Regions from separate parts of the Homo sapiens genome. Here region 2 is linked to region 1. The links are contacts of gene promoters, found by promoter capture Hi-C in blood cells and fetal thymus (Javierre and others, 2016). All regions are on one chromosome and are shown on one strand. Each heading gives the region's core, a stretch centred on a gene start or on the middle of the fragment in contact. The rest is flanking DNA. Distances are from core to core; before and after follow the strand shown. Region 1 holds the start of YAE1-DT (YAE1 divergent transcript). Region 2 overlaps LINC00265 (long intergenic non-protein coding RNA 265).

Region 1 (3,692 bases), core at 345-2,844:
ACTTGAACTTTGGGGTTTTTCTGGTACTATCTTTATGAAGTTACAGTAAGGCTGGCTTCATGAAATGATTTAAGGAGTTTCTTCTTTTTCTCTCCCCTAAAATGGTAAAAATAGTTTAAGACTCCATCATTCCTTAAAGATTGCAAAGGACTTAATGTGAAACTCCCAAGTCTCCATGACATTTTTAATAGTAGATATTTAATGTCCAATTTTTCTATGGTAATTAGTCTCTTCATGACCCTACTTCTTGGGTCAATTTTCTTAGAAAGTCATTCATATCTCTCAGGTTTTCGAATGTGTTGCTTTTGAGTTTTAGTTGGTAATTAATATTTTAATCTCCTTCTGCATCAGTGGTTATCTCATTTCTCATTCTTGTATAATTTTGTTCTCTTTAAAAATCTGGGTCATGACAGGATTATCTATCTTATTGGTGTTTTCAAATAATACAAAAAAGAATTGGACTTACTTATTCAAGTTTTGAGGTTTTCTATTTTATTGTTATCTTTATTGCTTACTACCATTTTGTTCCTAATAAAGATATATACATATATCTTAATATATTTACATTAATAAAATATACATATTTGTAGTTTATATATTTTTTATTTGTGGGATGCCAAATTCTCTCTGGAGATTTAAAATTGTAACATGAACCAACCACCCACTCCCACACACTTATGGTTCTTACTGTGCTTATTTAAAAATTTTTTTCATAGCATTTATTTATGATCTTCTAACAAACCTTATGCTACTTATATATTGCTTATTGTTTATCCTGTCAATTTTACATGACTATAAAGTCGACAAGGGTTGGGAACTTCCGTCTGTTCATTGATGTATCCCAAAGCCTGGAATGGTACCTGACACAAGGTAGGTGTTCAATAAATTGTTAGATAAATAAATCATAATCACATGACTCATTTTACCCAGGCAAAGGGCAAAACAGGAATACTACAGGTATTCATTCATTCACCAAAATAGAGTTCAGCATTTACTATGTGTCAGAACTGTCCTGGTGTTGACACAAGTCCCCACCCTTACCAAACCAACTGTTTACTTTAGGGCATATGAACAGGAATGGGAGGCAGAAGGATATCGTGAATCAATGAAAAAATATATTGGCTTTACAAATGTACTCTATATTTCTTACTAATCTCAAATTGGCTACAGTACCTCGCTTTTCGATCCTATTTTCCTTTACTCCACAATCCTAACAGTTTAAAATGTCGGCTTGTCAAATCCTTTAAATGCAGAGGAGATTCCAAAAGAGACAAAGTATTTGGGTGGTAATCGCCCATCGACTTTACTACCTTTAATAGTTTACCAAAGCGCGCGAATGTAAAACCCAGACCATGGTAAGACTACGGTGGAAATGGAAGGTGTCTCACTGAGGGTCCCGGTTGCCTTCTGCAAAGGTGAAGGTCGTGCCGGCCACGCGAGGAAATCTGCCTCGCTCACAACTCACAGGCACACATCAACACTGCCAACCGAGGGAGCCCAAAATCACCGCAAGCGAAAGGCTCCGGCGGCGGCCACGGGCCACAGCCCGCCTCCGCGCACACGCAGCCCCTCCCGAGCCTCCACTCGCCGTCTTCGCCCCGCCTTCGGACCGGAAGGAGTTGTTGGCGCTTCCGGTGGCCTGCGACCCCGTAATTGCCTCGGTGATGTCGTGGGTTCAAGCAGCCTCCTTGATCCAGGGCCCTGGAGACAAAGGGGACGTGTTTGACGAAGAAGCAGACGAGTCGCTCCTGGCGCAGCGGGAATGGCAGAGTAACATGCAAAGACGAGTCAAAGTAAACGTGGTGTGGACGGCGCGGGGTGCTGGGTTGTGGGAAGAGGCGCGGAGTTGTGAAGAAGCTGGGTCCAGAGTGGCCCCAGCCTGGCCCGGCGCTGCTCTCTTTATCCCTAGGGACCCGGTCCGACCCGCGTCTTGCTAGGATTTCTCGATGGTTACTTGAAAGCGTGTAAAACAACAAGACGCATTCTTTGAGCGCCTACGGGATGCGTTAGAAACTGAGGACCGACCAAAATTAACTATGTGTAGACTTTGAACAGTTTGCAGTTTGTTGAGGATCACAGGGAAAGGAGCTGGAGAGAAACATACACTATACTTATTATGGCTGTCAAAGGACGTGTACGCAGTTTATATGGGTGGCTTGAATGGGTAGGGAGCCTAAAGTTAAGGAGTAGTGTTAATCAAGACATATTGAAAAGATGAACTAAAGCATGCTGTCAGAGGACAATAAGGGAAAGCTAATGTGGAATACTGGTGTCTAGGTAAGGGAATATTAAAGTTGGTTTCTTTTTTATTTGTTAGATGTAACTTTTTCATCTCTAATTTGTCTCACTATTCATTGAAACTAAGCTTAATTTCTGTGTGCAGCCTACAGTATTTCTGGGTGAGGACCAAATAGTGAGGTCCACATCCACTTAATATATTTGCCAACCATTAAATTGCCGCTAAAGCTGCAGTTGGGAATCTGCCCTGTTTAATATTTCAGTAGAGTGGTATTTGCTTAGCCCAAAAACCATGTTGTCAATTACAAAAATGCTTTATGTGAGACTGGGGCCACACTAATAAGTATTGAGCATCTTTTAAATGCTGTGGCACCGTGAGAGATGCAGAACGAAATCACTACCCACAGAGCTTTTGCAGGTTAGTTGAATTTAGGTATTATGCAAAATTTCTGAAACCAGACTTCTCATCATCCTTTTTTTTTTAAACAATTTCCTCTCTCTGCTTTGCCCTGTCTCCTCACCCACCCACACCATTCCAATCAGTTGGCAAGAGCCCAGATGTGTAATTTTCCATATATCCTTTTTGTGAAGACATTGCTAATGCTGGGTTTTGTTTTTTGTTTTTTGGTTTTTTTAATCTTTTGAAGTGATTAGAAAAGTTTATTTTGTGCTTAGGATATTTTTCTAAGGCATCACAGGTTACACATCCAAACTCTTCAATGGTATAATATTTTATATTCTAAAGGAGAGACCTTTAAAGAAAACTTGTACATTATGCTACTATAAGTCTAGTGGATTCTCCTATCCGCAGAGCCTAGAAAGAAGGGGACATTACAGAAATTGTCTACTACATAATGGTCAGTTGATTCATTGTATTTATGGTTTTCCCCCTTCTTGTAAGGTGAAAACTATGTATGCCCTTTAAGGAGTATGCTCTTTAAGGAGTAAAAATACACTAAGTGTACCATCCTGTTGATTTCTACCTGTAAGATACCACACAATATTAGCAGTTAGGAAAGAACAGGAAAATATGAAGTTTGTATCTTAAAATATAAAAATGTGTGGCGAAACCCCATCTCTACTAAAAATACAAAAATTAGCCGGGTATAGTGGCGTGCACCTATAGTCCCAGCTACTTGGGAGGCTGAGGCAGAAGAATCACTTGAATCCGGGAGGCAGAGGTTGCAGTGAGCTGAGGTCATGCCACTGCACTCCAGCCTGGGTGACAGAGCGCGACTCCATCTCAAAAAATAATGATAATAATAAATATATATATATATAGTTAATGATTTTGAAACATCAAGCATTACAGACTGTAAAATTAATTAAGAACTTTCTGTATATGATGCCAAAGATACATTTAAAACATATACAAGAAGATGCTTTTTCCTGAGTAGAATGCAAACTTTGTTTTATATTAACCTTCTGTGAATTTTCAAAATGTAAAATACCAG
Region 2 (3,692 bases), core at 722-3,221, 190 kb after region 1:
TGCCGGCAGGCCAGCACTGGGGCTCTTTTTGTTTAATATTTGCCTAGTTGTTGAGTAAGGATGGAGACAGACTTAAATCATTAAGTGGGATTTCTATTTTTAGACATTTCTCATTCTGCTGAATAGAAAATTTAAAAAGAGTGCATTCCTGCCTCAAGGAATGGTAGGACTTTTTGAGGCTTAATGACTAAGGGAAACAAACGTGTGCTTCAAAGTACACTGAGCACTTAGGTTCAGTGAATGCTTTCTCAAATACACTTTGGATCTAATATAAGAACTCAGTTTGTCCTGGTGCAGACTTATCTGGGAGCATTAATACTCCTGGGCTTAAACAAACTGCCCCAGAACACAGTGCTGAGAGCAGGAGACCCTGACTGGCCTCAAATCTGTTAAGATGGCAATCAATCATTTAGAAGCTTTACAACCAGGAGAAAAACGAGCGTGAGAGGAAATGTGAAACGATGACACATCATCACTCTCCACTAGAGCCCTCCAGTTTCTGAGAAAGATGGAAACTCTCTCATTGGAAAAGGCAGAAAAATAAACATGCTAACAATGAAAATTCTTAAGATTTTTTTAAAAAGAGAAACTGAGAGGAAAAATCATATCTAAGTTCTTCTAGAAAGATCACAATTTCACAAAACCTATTGTTTGGAACAAAAACCTGGGTTTAAGTTTATTTTATTTAGCTGAGCACATTTAGTAGAATTATTTCAAGTGTCTGCCTTAGTACAGACTTTTCAGAAGTGGGATAAATGTACAGTTTCCTGCTACCTAGAGCTGCTGTGAGAATTAACTAAATTAAAAACCAAAAAATGACAGGCAGTAGATAGACTGAAATCTTTCTCTTAAGAGTTGTGCTATGGCTGAGTGCAGTGGGTCATGCCTATAATTTCAGCACTTTGGGAGGCCGAGGTGGGAGGATCACTTGAGCCCAGCAGTTCAAGACCAGCCAGAGCAACATGGCAAAACCCCAACTCTACAAAAAATACAAAAAAATTAGCTGGGCATGCTGGTGCATGCTTGTAGTCCCAGCTACTAGGGAGGCTGAGGTGGGAGGATCATGTGAACCTGGGGAAGTTGAGGCTACAGTGAGCCATGATCTCACCACTGCACTCCAGCCTGCTGGGCAACAGAGTGAGACCCTGCTTCAAAAGAAAAAAAAAAAGTCGTGCTATGAATTAAAAAAAAAAGAAACTAAAATATTTACTGCATGAAAATGAAAGAATTAGATTGGACTCTACCTGTGCTCTAGTTCCAATTTCACTGTCTCTCTTTAGCCAAGTATCAGAGGCATCTGTTGTTTTGTTGTATAGATGCAAGTTGGGCATCCATGAACCAGCTTATTGGATATTGGTGGTGGTGGTTTTCACTCAGCTCTATTCTGTAGAAATAGTACCCCAATTTTGCTTTGGGGAATCACCCTCCCTGTCTGAGCCCACTTGCTTCAGGTGAACCTGAATCCATCTACAGCCTCCTAGGGAGTAGAAAGTGAGTGAGGCTAAGCTCACCAGCACAGCCTCTTTCCCCAGATGACAGTCATTGGTTCAGGGAAAAAATGCATGACACAAATTAAACCCAGAGTATTAAAAACTTAATTGTTGGTGGGAAATGCCAAATGTTATAACCTTATGGAGGGGAATCCAGCAGTCTCTAAAGAGAAATGATAATAGAATGCAATTAATAATCTGTGGTTTTCTTTTCCTATAAAAGATATTATCAGGAAAATGGGTGAAATTTAAGATCTGTAGATTAGTTGATATTATTGTATCAGTGTTAATATCTTGAGTTTGATAATTTTTATTGTGGTTAATGTTCTTATTTTAGGTAACACTGAAGTATTTAGACATGTAGGGTCATCACATCTGCAACTTATTTGCCCATGGTTCAGGAACAATTACATTACACACACACACACACACACACACACACACACACACACACACACACCAGATAATAGATATAGAAAGTAGGAGGGCAAGAGAAAGAATGACAAAGCAAACGGGCTAAAAATTTAATAACTGGGGAACTTGAGTAAAGGGTATATAGCAATTCTTTATACTGTTCCCAAAACTCTTCCATAAATCTTTATTATGTTGTAAACCCAGAAAATCTGAGATAGGTCTCAGTTAATTTAGAAAGTTTATTTTGCCAAGGTTGAGGATGCACCCATGACACAGCCTCAGGAAGTCCTGATGACATGTGCCCAAGGTAGTCGGGGCACAGCTTGGTTTTGTACATTTTAGGGAGACATGAAACATCAGTCAATATATGTAAGAAGTACATTGGTTCGATCTGGAAAGGCAGGACAACTCAAAGCAAAGGGAGGAAAACTGGAAGTAGGATGTGGCTTCCAGGTCACAGATAGGTGAGAGACAAAGGTTGCATTCTTTTGAGTTAATACTTGGACTGAGCTAATGTTCATCCTAGGCATCCTCTTCTCAGGGGAAGAAAGAAGCATGATCCGTAGAGCTGCTATGGTGGTCTGATAATGTGAACACCCTCCTGGCCAAAACGTTCCTGCAGCAGATCAAAAATTCCCCACCAAAGACCCCCAGTGGGAAAATAACAATGCAGCCCACTACATATGCAAGACCTTAGGGAAATGATAATAAAAGGGATTAAAGAATCAGTACCCCAAATCCAGAACCTTACCCGAGCATTTGATATACAGCATGGGCAAGATGAAGGGCCTATAGAATTTTTAGACAGATCGAAGGAACAAATGAGACAGTATGCTGATCTAGATCCTGAGGATCCTCTTGGATGGGGAATGTTAAAACTTCATTTTGTTGTTAACAGTTGGCCAGATATTTCAAAGAAATTACAAAAGATGGAAAATTGGAAAGACCATCCTGTGGAGGGTCTGTCCTGCAGGCCCCAGCTCGCATGATGGATGAATAATGTACCCAGACACCGATATTCAGTGAAAGTGCCTCTAGGGATCCGAGCTGCTCACAGACACCAAGGAAGGTGGTGTAAAGAATCAGCAGCCACAGCCCCAATTAGCTGTCCCTGTGGGCATTTATTTGGCACAGTTTTAATGACAAAGGCTTTGAGTCAACACACCTGTGGGTAATTAATCTGGTCGCCCCCACCCCAGGAGAGCTATCCCGCCCTTGAGTGATCAAATGTTAGTTGTAGGACCACATGAGTAAACAAGCTCTTTAGATAAACTTCTCCACATTCCTATGTATCTGCGCCCTAAGCTCTCTGGCTCCTGAAAAGAGGATTTGGCTGCCTTCAGCCAAACTATCTGAAGTTATGCCAAACTTCCTGGCCTTCCAACAAGGTTTGCTTCTTTCTATTCCTATAATTTCTTCTGCCATACTGACTGATCTTCCACACTGTCCCGTGAGTGAATTTCTTAGGGAGGCTCAAAAAGAGTATGTAAGAAGGGACAAAGGAAAACAAAAACAGAAGGCAAAAATTCTGCTGTCCACCATACAACAAAGTACTCAGGGGGCCAGAACCTAAAAAGAGCCTAGGCCCCCACTTTCCAGGCCATATAAAGAACACCAAAAAGTGAAGCTTGGAAACTTAAAATTAGGAAAGGAAGGAAGGATCTCTTTGAAGGCTATAATGCTTTGAAAACTGTTGGCAGTGTGGCATGACTGCTTAAAGTAGATAAAAGCTTGTCATTTTACCCCATCCCGGCGTGACTGTGAAGCTGGTGAGGAAAGAGGAAAAAG

What was found. The method cuts DNA at HindIII sites, captures the fragments that hold promoters and counts their contacts. A CHiCAGO score of 5 or more calls a contact.
Region 2: a fragment that was not itself captured here is called in contact with the fragment with the promoter of YAE1-DT in region 1 in 13 of 17 cell types (activated CD4 T cells, total CD8 T cells, megakaryocytes and 10 more); the score reaches 11.2 in activated CD4 T cells.

Annotation. Positions count from the first base shown.
Region 1 is chr7:39,564,755-39,568,446 of GRCh38, forward strand. YAE1-DT (YAE1 divergent transcript) reads right to left here and starts at 1,595. Exons shown (of 3, transcript NR_187579.1): 1 at 1,389-1,595. It overlaps YAE1 (YAE1 maturation factor of ABCE1), which reads left to right and starts at 1,650. Exons shown (of 3, transcript NM_020192.5): 1 at 1,650-1,793. The coding sequence starts at 1,665. It also overlaps the pseudogene TMX1P1. RefSeq lists an enhancer at 1,487-1,936. The HindIII fragment of the contact is 5,827 bases long and covers 1-2,363 here.
Region 2 is chr7:39,754,582-39,758,273 of GRCh38, forward strand. All of the region lies in intron 1 of LINC00265 (long intergenic non-protein coding RNA 265), which reads left to right. Among named protein-coding and RNA genes, the nearest start is that of LINC00265, 23 kb to the left of the region's middle. RefSeq lists an enhancer at 1-239. The HindIII fragment of the contact is 3,115 bases long and covers 415-3,529 here.